2 separate regions of the Homo sapiens genome follow, and region 2 is linked to region 1. Evidence: promoter capture Hi-C in human tissues and cell types (Jung and others, 2019). All regions are on one chromosome and are shown on one strand. Each heading gives the region's core, a stretch centred on a gene start or on the middle of the fragment in contact. The rest is flanking DNA. Distances are from core to core; before and after follow the strand shown. Region 1 holds the start of ZC3H8 (zinc finger CCCH-type containing 8). Region 2 overlaps MERTK (MER proto-oncogene, tyrosine kinase).

Evidence for each region. Contacts are between HindIII fragments. The study calls those that stand out against the background at their distance.
Region 2: a fragment that was not itself captured here is called in contact with the fragment with the promoter of ZC3H8 in region 1 in 1 of the 25 tissues and cell types used here (hippocampus).

The regions. Positions count from the first base shown.
Region 1 is chr2:112,252,801-112,259,278 of GRCh38, forward strand. It overlaps ZC3H8 (zinc finger CCCH-type containing 8), which reads right to left and starts at 2,242. Exons shown (of 9, transcript NM_032494.3): 1 at 2,108-2,242. The coding sequence starts at 2,181. RefSeq lists a silencer at 2,215-2,424 and a cis regulatory region at 3,975-4,226. The HindIII fragment of the contact is 5,500 bases long and covers 1-4,606 here.
Region 2 is chr2:111,908,323-111,915,475 of GRCh38, forward strand. The region is part of intron 1 of MERTK (MER proto-oncogene, tyrosine kinase); the gene reads left to right. Among named protein-coding and RNA genes, the nearest start is that of MERTK, 13 kb to the left of the region's middle. The HindIII fragment of the contact is 7,559 bases long and covers 1-6,430 here.

The DNA of each region.
Region 1 (6,478 bases), core at 992-3,491:
ACTTACCAATGTTATCAGTGAGGCTTTCCTTATCTACCTTCTTAAAATATCTACACCTCCCAGCCGGGCGCGGTGGCTCACGCCTGTAATCCCAGCACTTTGGGAGGCCAAGGCGGGCAGATCACAAGGTCAGGAGATCGAGACCATCCTGTCTAACATGGTGAAACCCCGTCTCTACTAAAAATACGTCGGGCGTGGTGGCAGGCGCCTGTAGTCCCAGCTACTCGGGAGGCTGAGGCAGGAGAATGGTGTGAACCCGGAAGGCAGAGCTTGCAGTGAGCCGAGATCGCGCCACTGCACCCCAGCCTGGGCGACAGAGCCAGACTCTGCTCAAAAAAATAAAAAAAAAACCCACAAAACTACTCCCTCCCTACCATCCCACCAGTGCTTATTTTCCCCTTACCCTTCATTCATTTTCTCAGGGCATTTAGTACCACCTAAAATATGATATATTTATGTATGTCTCCCCCTTCCCCTAATAATGTAAATTCATTAGTACAGAAATTTTCATCTCTTCTTCATTTACTACTATATCCCCAAGGCCGTAGCAGGTGCTCAATACGATTTTTTGAATGAATGAGAAGTATTCCCATCACAAATTACTCGGAAAAAAAACCAGAAACCATATGAGAAAAGACTGATTCATCTGACTGCATAAAACCAAACCACAACATCCCCATTCCTTTTTACATTGAAAAATAATGCCATAGGCAAAGACAAATGACAATTGGGAGTAAAGTATTCGCAGATAAGAGATCCTAGAATGTGAAAAAGACCAAAAAGGAGAAAAATGGGCAAATAATATGGACAGCTCACCATACTTCCATACCATCCTTCACCCATCATTTTGGCAAAATTCCAAGTGTCTTTTATGTATTGCAGTCAAGTTTTGGGGAATGGAGCTTGTGTCCAACACACTTTGAAACTGATAGCTGCTGTTCGGATTTTTAAATGTTGCTATTATCTTTTTTTTGTGTGATGAATTCTTATGTATTTTATAACATATCAATTAGTACCAGTTATTTTTCTTAGTAAATTATATCATCTGCAAGTAATTAGTGTATCTGTCTCTTTCCAATATTTATAGGGCTTATTTTAAAATTTTAGTCATTTTGCATGAGAAGCTTGGTGATAAAATCATGGATCCTGGACATAGCTCTTCCACTTACACTGTGCAATCTCGGCAGGTTATTTAGCCTCTCCGTGCCTCAGTTTTCCCATCTGTAAAACGAGGACGGCATCATCTTCTCTTTAAGTTTGTTTTGAGGATTAAGTGATTTATTTCATGTAAAGCACAAGGTAAAGCTCTGGATGATCAGTTAAGGTAAAATTTGAGATAGAGTGAACAGCTGACCAATATCGAATGGTAAAATCAATCACAACTGGAAATATATCTCAGTTGAGGGAAATAAAAGACGTAGGTTTAAGAACAAAGATGGTGGTTTTTAGCATTTCAAATCACTAGACACTGCTCCAAAAATATAATCTACAAATTAGGGCCATCTGACCAAGAGTCTCACTTGCTTTTCCAACCTAATGGAAATATTAAGTCCAAATGACGTCTGTTGCTTTATTGTGGTCTTTAGGGTCTTTCCATGCAAATCAGTGGACTAATGGCAGAGTATTGCCTATTCTTTACCTTTCAATAAACTTGTGGTTTCATCCTTTCTACAGAAAAGAACCTAGGAGGTGTCAGTGAAAAAGGTCACATCAGTGTCCTCTGGGAGTTTACGGTCTCGTGGAAACAGGCAACAACGGTAAAGACAGACGCTACGGGACCACAGAGGCGGGCTCCTCACCCGCTGCTGTGCAGAGAAAGGGGCGCATCCCGGAGCCTTCTCGCCTCCACCCCGCTCCCCCGCCCAGGCTCTCGACAGCCCCGGCCCTGACGGCCTAAGCCTGAGCCCCGCGTTCAGCTTCTGCTCCCACCCGGACCCCGCACGACCTCTATAGGTCAGACGGTGGCGCCCGGCCGGCCCACGTGCTCCCCACGGGCCCTCGCGACGCGGCCCGGACGTGGCCCCGGACTGCCTCCAATCCAGAAGAAACTAAGAGGCGGAGTCCCGCTGAGCCCCTGCATTCAAAAGATGAAAAGATATGGGATCACCTTTCGTCAGAGTCCGTGGCCGTTTTGCCGAGGGCCGGGTTGGGGGGTTTTGAGAAAAGATTCTCAAAATCCATGACCCAGACAGGTCCTCCCTTTCGCGAGCCGGGAAGCTACAGAGTAACAACCCGAGAGAGTGACAACCCGGACGCGACGAGACGGACCCAGAGCCGCGCCAGGGCCACAGGCTCCGCCCCGCGCAGCCTCACCTGCCCCGCGCATGCGCTGCACCGCCCTCCGCGACTCTGGGCAGGCCGGGTCTCTCCCTGCCTCCTTCGCCTCGGCTCTGCGCAGGCGCCGCCGTGGTTGCCCTTCTGTAAGCTTTTTCGTCCTTTACCTCAGATAGTAGAATTTTGTTTATTTTATTTATTTATTTGTTTGTTTGTTTGTTTATTTAAAGACAGAGTCAAGCTCTGTCGTCCAGGCTGGACTGCAGTGGCGTGATCTCGGCTCACTGCAACCTCCGCCTCCCGGGTTCAAGCAAGTCTCCTGCTTCAGCCTCCTGAGTAGCTGGGACTACAGGTGTCTGCCACCACGCCCAGCTAATTTTTGTATTTTTAGTAGAGACGGGATTTCACCATGTTGGCCAGGATGGTCTCGATCTCTTGATCTCGTGATCCGCCCGCCCCAGCCTTCCAAAGTGCTGGGATTACAGGCGTGAGCCACCGCGCCCGGCCCCAGCCCAGAATTTTTAAAATTAGTTGTTAGGATTCTGCTTTCACCTTGGTGAAAACTCTTCCATCAAAATCACAGTATTTCTAAGGGATGGTAGTAACAGCTAACATTTATCTGAGCACTCCACTACTATTCCTTAGAAATAGCGTTTCACATGTTAGCTAACTTAATCCTCACAACAGCCCTGTAAAAGATGTTCTATTACCATTCACAGTTTTGAAATGAATAAACAGATGTGTAGTCAGGTAATGTAACTTGTAGGGTCTCTACAATTGAATGGGAATTAAAATGAATACACAAGTAACCTCAAGACAGAAAAGTCCGTTAAAAAGTACCAAATACTAAGAGAATTCAGAAGAGGGAAAAAATTGCATCCAGTTGGGAAGGCTTCTTGAGAAGGGAGTATTTGAGCTGGGTCTTGAGATATTTCCATAGGAAAAGAGGAAGTGGGCATTCCAAGTAGAGAGAATTGTATGAAGGCAGGAAAATAGAGCATGCTGTTGCAGAACAGGAAATTGCTCAGTTTTGCTCAATGTAATGCCATTTAAGGGACCTGTAGAAAGGAAGGCTCAAACCCTAGGTTGGGCCAGTGATAGAGAACCTGACTTGCTTCTGTAAGTGAAGGGAGTGTTTGATTCTTGGCATGAATCAGGATCCCTTTACCGATTAGTGAAGGGAACTATTTGAAGCCAGACATCTTCCCCAGGGAAATTCTACTTTCCCATGTTGTTTATATTGTAGGCCATCACCTATGGAACATGAATCATTACTAAAAATTCAGAGAAAAAATTGAATTAAGGAGATAAAAACTAGAATTACCCCCTCTTTAGCAGGAAGCATTATTATAGAACCCAAATTGTTACCATACACACTTTTTTATATAAAATATCCAACATACAGCAAAAGATAACCAGACACAAATGAAAATTAGATTGGTAGGTAAAAAGCAGCTAAAACATCTGACCTGCAAAGGCATCAGACACTAGCATTTTCAGACAAAGACTATATAAAAGGCTACATATGTTTGTGTTAGATTGATGCCAAAAAAGGCCCCAATTTCTCCAACCTTTCCTGTATCCATGTCCTTTGCAATGTGACTTTGCAGCTCCTCCCATAAAGAGGTAGGATCTATTTCACCTCCTCTTTAATCTGAGTTGATTTTGCCTGATAGAATGACTTGTCTTAGCTAGTAGAATGCAGAAGTGGCCTGCCAATACCAAGCCAAGGCCCCAAGAGGCTTTGTATGTGTCTGCTGTCTCTTATATGCCTGCCTTCTTCAGGACAATAAACTCAGGCTACCCTGCTGACGATAAGGGAGAGGCATGTAGAAGATAAGGCTAATGGAGGACAGCGAAAACACCCAGTCAACAGCTAGCAAAACCCTAAAAGCAAAGCCTCCTAGGCAACATACAGCTGAGCACACACATGATGGAGTCCTGCAGAGAACCAAAGACTCTCAGATGATCCCAGTCCAAATTACTAACCCACATAAATAAATGGTCCTTGTTTTAAGCCACTAAGTTTTTAAGTAGTTTACTACATAGTAATATCTAACTAATAAAAAAGAAACTATAAAAAGTGTCATAGAGAAATTGGGGAGAAGTAACCAAGTAGAACTTCTAGAAATAAAAAATATAATACTGAAATTTTTAAAAATCAGTGGATGGGGCTGGGCGTGGTGGCTCACACCTGTAATCCCAGCACTTTGGGAGGCCAAGGCCGGTGGATCACAAGGTCAAGAGATAGAGACCATCCTGCCAAAATGGTGAAACCCTGTCTCTAATAAAAATACAAAAATTAGCTGGGCGGGTTGGCGCACGCCTGTAGTCCCAGCTACTCAGGAGTCTGAGGCAGGAGAATCGCTTGAACCCGGGAGGCGGAGGTTGCAGTGAGCTGAAATTGCGCCACTGCACTCCAGCCTGGGAGACAGAGTGAGACTCCATCTCAAAAAAAAAAAAAAAAAATCAGTGGATGGTGTGGTCATATTAAAATGTGTTCAAAAATTCCTTAACACTTCTCCCTGCAAAAGTTGGAGATTTAGTCCCCTCTTCTTTAATGTGGATAGGATTTACTTATTTATTTCTAACAAATACAATGTGGCAAAAGTGATGATGCATGATTTCTGAGGTCATAAGAAGACATTGTAGTTTCTGCCTTATTCTCTTGAATCATCTGCATGAAGGGAAGTCAGTCACCATGTCATGAATCACTCAGGCAGCCTGTGGAGAGCCAGCCATGTGGGTGAGGTACCTTGGAAACAGATCTCCCAGCACTAAGCAAGCCAGAAGACATCTCGACAGCAATCCCGTGAGAAACTGTGGGACAGAACCACCCAGCTAAGCAGCTCGCAGATTCGTGACCCACAGAGGATATAAGAAGATCAATGTTGGGCCAGGTGTGGTGGCTCACGCCTGTAATCCCAGCACTTTGGGAGTCTGAGGCAGGTGGATCACCTCAAGTCAGGAGGTTGAGACCAGCCTGGCCAACATGGTGAAACCCCGTCTCTACTAAAAATACAAAATTAGCTGGGTGTGGTGGCGCATGCCTGTAGTCCCAGTTACTTGGGAGGCTGAGGCACGAGAATCGCTTGAACCCAGGAGGCGGAGTTTGCAGTAAGCCGAGATCGCGCCATTGCACTCCAGCCTGGGCAAGAAGAGCAAAACTTCATCTCAAAAAATAATAATAATAATAAAGAAGATCAATGTTTGTTTTTTTAACCACAAAGTTTTAGGCCAATTTGCTGTCCTCTATAGCAATAGAAAAGTGAAATTCCCTATTATTATAAAGCAGATGGCCTAAACATAAAATTATCATATGACCCAGCAATTCCACTCCTAGGTATATACCCAAAGGAATTGAAAACAGGGACTGAAACATATATTTGTACATTCATGTTAATTGCAGCATTATTCACAATAGCCAAAAGGTAGAAACAAACCGAGTGTCCATCCACTGATTAATGGATAAAATGTGATATACACATAGGATATTATTTATCCATAAAAAGGAATGATGCTCTGATACATGCTGTCAGAACTGAATTTTGTATACTAGCTGAACTTTGAAAACTGTATGCTAAGTTAAATAAGCCAGGCACAAAAGGACAAATATTGTATGATTCCACTTACGTGAAATATCTACAATAGGGAATTGTATAGAGACAGACAGTAGATTAGAGGTTACCAGGGACTGAGAGAGGGTGAAACGGAATTGTTGCTTAAAAGTGACAGAATTTCTGCTTGAGGTGATGGGAAAGTTTGGAAATACATAATGGTGATGGTTGCACAACAATGTGAATGTAACTAATGCCAATGAATTATATGCTTAAAAATGGCTGGTCAGACACAGTTGCTCACTCCTGTAATCCCAGCACTTTGGGAGGCCAAGGCAGGTGGATCATCTGAGGTCAGGAGTTTGAGACCAGCCTGACCAACATGGTGAAACCCCGTCTCTACTAACAATCCAAAAATTAGCCAGGCGTGGTGGCGGGCACCTGTAATCCCAGCTACTCGGGAGGCTGAGGCAGGAGAATCGCTGAAACCCGAGAGGCAGAGGTTGTAGTGAGCCGAGATGGTGCCATTGCGCTCCAGCCTGGGCAACAGAGTGAGACTCCGTCTCAAAAAAAAAAAAAAGTTGAAATGGCAAATTTTATATTTCTTTTACCAAAATAAAATAAAGCAGTTGGCATGTTAAAATGGT
Region 2 (7,153 bases), core at 1,401-3,900, 340 kb before region 1:
ATACTCACATCTTATTATAAAATATTTAGGATACACAAAAGGATTTAACAGGTAATAAAACTCGCCTGTGTACTCACTACTTGACGTAAGAAGTCAGACATTAACACTACAGTGGAAGTCCCCGGTCGTTCCTCTCTCCAGTGTCATCCCCTCACTCCCACCCAGAGAAAACCATTATCCCACATTGGGTGTTTCAATTCCCATGCATGTCTTTATCCTTTGATCATGATTGACATGATTATGTTGGTAACACTCTATAGTGTTGTTTTGCACCATGTCAGTTACATTTGATTGCATATAACAGAAAACCTTACTTCAGTGGTGTAACCAAAATGGGAGTATTTTTCTCATACAACAAGCAGTCTGACAGCAACCAGGTTGGGATTAGACAGTGGCTCCATGATAAAGTCAATGACCTGGCTCTTGGCTCTGACATCTATAGTGTATGCTTTTAGAACACATTGTTCCTTAAATGGCTGCTGTGCTTCTGGGCATTTCATTTGCATTCCAGGCAGAAAAAAGCAGAAGGGAAAAGGACAAAAAGTCTCATACCAGCTGAGTCTGTCCTTTTTATCAAGAAGGTGACTGGAACATCTCAACAGCAAAAAACAAGCAATCCGATTAAAAAATGAACAAGTGATCTAAACATATTTCTCAAAAGAAGAAATACAAATGGCTAACAGATAAATATATGAAAAAATGCTTAACATCACTAATCATCAGGGAGATGTAAACCAAAATTACAACCTGGTTTCATTTCATTGCATTTAGGATGGCTATGTCAAAAAGGCAAAAAATAACAAATGCTGGCAAAGGTGCAGAGAAAAGGGAACTCATACACTGCTGGTGGGGATTTAAACTATCACAGCCACTATTGTGGCAGGCCAGGTCTCGGTAACGCAGGCCTCTGTAACAACTGTTTCAGCACTGAGTGGTTAAGTTAAATATTAAAAGCTAATAGAGCCGGTGCCCTCATACAAAGGCTGGAATGTAATGAAAGCCCACCAGAAGTTTTGCCCAGGCCTTTCCTGGGCCTTGACTCATGACAAGATAACAAAGGAATTCTTAACAGGCCTCATTTAGGATTAAACAAGTTTTACTGGGGATCTTAAGAAATTCCCCAGACCTCCACAAACAAGTTTATTGGGGGTCTGAAGGAACTCCTCAAACCTCCATGATTTAGCGGGAGACAAGATAATAAGGATAATCACCCCAGCACCTGGATTCACTTAGATTAAGTACATTTACTGAGGCTCCAGAAGAAGGTCCTCAGGACTCAGACCTTAGTTATAGATTAGAAGAAGTTAATCACTTATGTCTTTAAATGAATGCACACTTCCATGTAGACATATAGCTTAGAAGGTATATAATCCCTGGAAAACGTAATTTTGAGTTGATGTGGTGATGTTTTCCAGGCCTTCTCCCTGTACCCAGGGAGAAATAAACTCCCTTCTTTCCCAGTTCATCTGCATCTCATTATTGGGCATGAGAATAAGCAGCCCAACCCTCAGTTCGGTCCGGGAACACTATGAAGAATGGTATGGAGGTTCCTCAAAAAACTACAGATGGAACTACCATATGATCCTGTAATTGCACTACTGGTCATTTATCCAAAAGAAAGGATATCAGTATATCAAAAAGACATCTGCACCCTCATGTTTAATATAGCACTATTCACAATAGCCAAGCTAAGGAATCAGTCTAGGTGTCCATCAACGGATGAATGGATAAAGAAAATGTGGTATAAGCTTTGGCAACATGGCAAGACCTGGTCTCTACTAGAAATAAAAAAATTAGCTAGACATTGTGGTGCATGCCTATGGTCATAGCTGCTCAGCAGGCTGAGGTGGGAGGACTCCTTGAGCCCAGGAGTTTGAGACTGTACTGAGCTATGATTGCCTTACTGCACTCCAGCCTGGGCAACAGAGTGAGACCCTGTCTCTGTTTTTTGTTTTTTTTTTTTTGAGACAAAGTCTCGCTCTTGTCCCCCAGGCTGGAATGCAGTGGCATGATCTCAGCTCACTGCAACTTCTGCCTCCTGGGTTCAAGTGATTCTTCTCCCTCGGCACCCCGAGTAGCTGGGATTACAGGCGCCTGCCACCACGCCTGGCTAATTTTTGTATTTTTATTTGAGATGGGGTTTCACCATGTTGGCCAGGCTGATCTCGAACTCCTGACCTCAGGTGATCCACCCGCCTCAGTCTCCCAAAGTTCTGGGATTACAGGCATGAGCCACCTCACCCGGCTGACCCTGTAACTTAAAAAAAAAGTGTGTGTGTGTGTGTGTGTATATATATATATATATACAAATGGAATACTATTAAATATTTAGCCATAAAGTAATGAAATCCTGTCATTGGTAGCAACATGGATGGAACTGGAAGACATTTGGTTAATTAAAACAAGCCAGAAACAAAGTTAAACACCACATGTCCTCACTCATAGGTGGAAGCTAAACAAAAAAGTTGATTTTGTAGAAGTAAAAAGTAGGACAAAGGTTACTAGGGCCTGGAAAGGATAGGAGGAAGGGGAGGATAGGAAGAGATTTGTTAAAGAATTCAAAATTACAGCAAGATAGGAGGGATAAGTTTAGTGTTCCATAGCACTGTAGGATTACTATAGTTAACAGTAATGTGTAATGTGCTCCATAGATATGTACAATTATGTTAATTAAAGCAGCTTTTAAAAAAGAAGGTGATAACTCAATACGAAGCCCTATGCTATGGACTTCAGCTAACCTTTCCCTGATTATTCCAAGCTGCCAGGAAGAGTGGCAAGTCAAGTGTGCTAGCTGGGCAAGTTGCCACCCTGAATGAGATTGGGTCCCCTTTGTGGAAACAAGGGGAAATGGGTGCTGAGCAGGACGCTAGCAGCAGCTTACCACATACATGTTATAAAATTTCATATAAATAGTATGCTTTCTTCTTCAGCTTGCTTTTTCACTGTTTGTGAAGTTTGCTAAATTCATCTGAGTTGAAAAGTGTAACCTTTGTTCATTTATCTTCATAGACAAATATGTAAATATACCATAGTTTTATTTATCCAATCTCCTCCTTTTGTTTTTTTGTTTTCTTTCTTTTTTTTGAGACAGAGTCTCACTCTGTTGCCCAGGCTGGAGTGCAATGGCGCTATCTCAGCTCACTGCAACCTCCGCCTCCTGGGTTCAAGTGATTCTCCTGCCTCAGTCTCCCGAGTAGTTGGGATTACAGGTGCACACCACCATGCCCAGCTAATTTTTGTATTTTTAGTAAAGATGGGGTTTCACCATGTTGGCCAGGCTGGTCTTGAACTCCTGACCTCCAGTGTGATCTGCCCGTCTCAGCCTCCCAAGTGCTGGGATTACAGGCATGAGCCATAGCGCCCAGCCTTTTTTTTTTTTTTTTTTTTTTTTTTTGAGTTGGCTGTTGCCCAGGCTGAAATGCAGTGGTGCCATCATAGCTCACTGGAGCCTAAACTCCTGGGCTCAAGTGATCCTCCCACCTCAGCCTGTTGAGTAGCTAGGACTACAGGTGCATGCCAACACAGCCAGCTGTTTCTTAACTTTTTTGTAGAGATGAGGTTTTGCCACATTGTCGAGGCTGGTCTCTAACTCCTGGGGTCAAGTGATCCTCCTGCCTCGGCCTGCCAAAGTGTGGGGATTACAGACATGAGCCACTGTGCCTGGCTTCCAATCGCTTTATTTATTTATTTATTTATTTATGACGGAGTCTCACGCTGTCACCCCGGCTGGAGTGCAGTGGTGCGATCTCGGCTCACTGCAACCTCCACCTTCCAGGTTCAAGTGATTCTCCTGCCTCAGCCTACCAAGTAGCTAGGATTACAGGTGCCCACCACCATGCCCAGCTAATTTTTTTTTTTGTATTTTTAGTAGAGATGGGGTTTCACCATGCTGGCCAGGCCGGTCTTGAATTCCTGACCTCATGATTTGCCCACCTCGGTCTCCCAAAGTGCTGGAATTACGGGCATGAGCCACCACACCCGGCCCCAGTTGCCTCTTAATGGGCATTTAGGTTTTCCTGAATTTTTCTATTACAAACAACGTTGCCATGAACATTATTCTTTTCTATTGTGAGGTTTCCTTTGCCATAATTAAATGTGCAGATTTTAAGTGTGGAGTCTGATGAGTTTTAATAAATATAGGTATCAAAACCCCTATCCAAGTTAAGAGCCCTTAACCTTCTTACATGTCTCCCTATGGACATGTGTGAGTCTAGGAGTGGAAACACTGAGTTGTAGGTTATATGCAATTTCAGCCCCATTATATGTTGCCAGTCCTGCACATCTTATAGGCAGGTTATTGCCATGGGAGATCTGGACTAAGATATTTCTTCCCAAGAGTACTCTAAACAGATCTGAGAATACTCCTCAGGGCAGGTTGCAACTAGATTGTGAAGTGAGTGATGCAACTGGCTCTTTCGCCACTCATGCTTATCATTCAGTGCCCCATCCTCACCCTTGGCTGTCACACACTGGAGCCTTCCCTCAGTTCAACCCTCAGAACCACCTGCAACCCAGGGCTCAGTAGCTGGGGCTTGTATGTGGACTGCAAGGTTAGGGTAGTTGGTGGCTGTGAGAAGCCCTCTTCATTCCTTCCTAGCCATGGAGAGCTGGGCAAGTCGTTTAGCATCTGGGAACCTCAGGATCCTCATCTATGAACTGGGGACAATTCCAGTGATACACCCTTCACAGGATTAGAGAAGACTGTCTAGGTAAAAGGCCTGGCGAAAGGTGAAAAAGTTTCTGTGTGGGTTGATACAGGTACTGGGTCCTTTGCTTTTTACCCAGTAGAAGATATTGAACATAGATTTGTAACATTGCTTAAAGGACCTCTATGCCAGGAATCAAGGACAAAGGCCAAATATATACTTTGAAATTATACTACAATCTGTATATCAATTTGGGGAGAATTGATATTTTTTCTAGGTTGAGATTTCCAATTTATGAACACAGTATATCTCTCCATTTAGTTATATCTTCTTGTATTTCTTTCATCAGTGTTTTGTTGTTTTTAGCAGAAGAGTTCTGTATGTGCTTTGTTAGATTTATACCTAAGTATTTCACCATTTGGAGTGATTGTAAATGGTATTGTATTTTTAATTTCAATGTCTATGTGTTTATTGCTTCATATGTAGAAATACAATAATTTGTATCTTGCAACCTTGATAAAATAACTTATTTGTTCCAAGGAGACTTTTTTATAGATTCCTTGGAATTTTCTTTTTTTTCTTTTTCTTTTTTTGAGATGGAGTCTCACTCTGTCACCCAGGTTGGAGTACAGTGGTGCAATCTCAGCTCACTGCAACCTCCGCCTCCAGGGCTCAAGCGATTCTTGTGCCTCAGCCTCTGGAGTAGCTGGGATTACAGGCGCATGCCACCACCATGCCTGGCTAATTTTTTTGTATTTTTGATAGAGGTGGGGTTTCACCATTTTGGCCAGGCTGGTGTTGAACTCCTGACTTCAGGTGATCCACCCACCTCAGCCTGCCAAAGTGCTAGGATTACAGGCATGAGCCACTGTGCCTAGCCTTCCTTGGAATTTTCTATGAAGATAATCATATCTGCAAGTAGCAATCCTTTTATTTTCTTCTTTTCTGATCTTTTCTTTCTGATGTGTTTTACTTCTTTTACTTGCTTTATTGCATTGGTTACAACTTTCAGCACGGTGTTGAATAAGAATGGGGAAAGCAGATATCCTTGCCTTGTTCCCATCCATTTTTTTTTTCAGATCTTTATTAAGTTGAGGATGTGCCCCTCTTTTCTTTCTTTCTTTCTTTCTTTCTTTTTTTTTTTTTTTTTTTTTTGAGATGGAGTCTCCTCTGTCACCCAGGCTGGAGTGCAGTGGCACGATCTTGGCTCACTGCAACCTCTGCCTCCCAGGTTCAAGTGATTCTCCTGTCTCAGCCCCCAAGTAGCCAGGACTACAGGTGTGCACCACCACGCCCGGCTAATTTTTGTATTTTTGTTTGTTTGTTTGAGACAGAGTCTTGCTCTGTGGCCCAGGCTGGAGTGCAATGGTGCAATCACGGCTCACTGCAAGCTCTGCCTCCCGGGTTCATGCCATTCTCCTGCCTCAGCCTCCCAAGTAGCTGGGACTGCAGGTGTGAGCCACTGCGCCCGGCCTAATTTTTGTATTTTTAGTAGAGACAGGGTTTCACCATGTTGGCCATGCTGGTCTTGAACTCCTGACTTCAGGTGATCTACCTGCCTTGGCCTCCCAAAGTGCTGGGATTACAGGCATGAGCCACCATGTCTGGCTTCTTCCTAATTTTCTTAGAGGGTTTTTTTTCCCCCATGAGCGAATATTGAATTTTGTTAAATGAACAATATGATCATGTGATTTTTATTTTTTTAGTCTGTTAGTATGCTGGATGACATTGTCTGATTTTCAAATACTGAACTAGCTTTCTATCCATGGCATAAATTCCACTTGATTGTGGTATATAATTATTTTTATATATTGGTGAGTTCTATTTGTTGATATTTTGTTAATAATTTTTTTGTGTTTATATTCATGAAGAATGTTGATCTGTTTTTTCTGTATTTTTGTCTGGTTTTGGTATCAGAGCAATACTAGCTTCATAAAATATATTAGGAAGTTCCACCCTCTCTTCTAATTTCTGAAGGAGATTATGTGGAATTGGTGTTAATTCTTCTTTAAGCATTTGGCATAATTCTCCAATGAAACCATCTGGGCCTGGAGATTTGTTTTTCGGTAGTTTAAAAAATTATGAATTCAATTTCCTTAATAGTTATAGCCTGATTCAAATTATCTATTTCATGTGGGGTACATTGTGATAGTTTATGTTTTTTGAAGATTTAATTCACTTCCTCTATGCTACCAAATTCATGTGTGGTTATTTGTACTATTCACTTATCCTTTTGATGTCTGCAGAGTCTATGGTGATTTCCCCTGTTTTATTCCTGATATTAACAATTTGTCTTCTCATTTTTTTCTTTGTTGGTCTTGTTAGAGGTTTGTTAATTTTATTGGTCTTTTCAAAGAATTTGTTGTTTGTTTCATTGATTCTGTATTGCTTTTTTTTTCATTTTCTTTTTTTATCTATTATTTTCTTCTTTCTGCTTGTTTTGGGTTTATTTTGCTCTTTCCCTGTGTTCTAAACTTAAATGATGGATTTGAGACTTTTCCTCTATT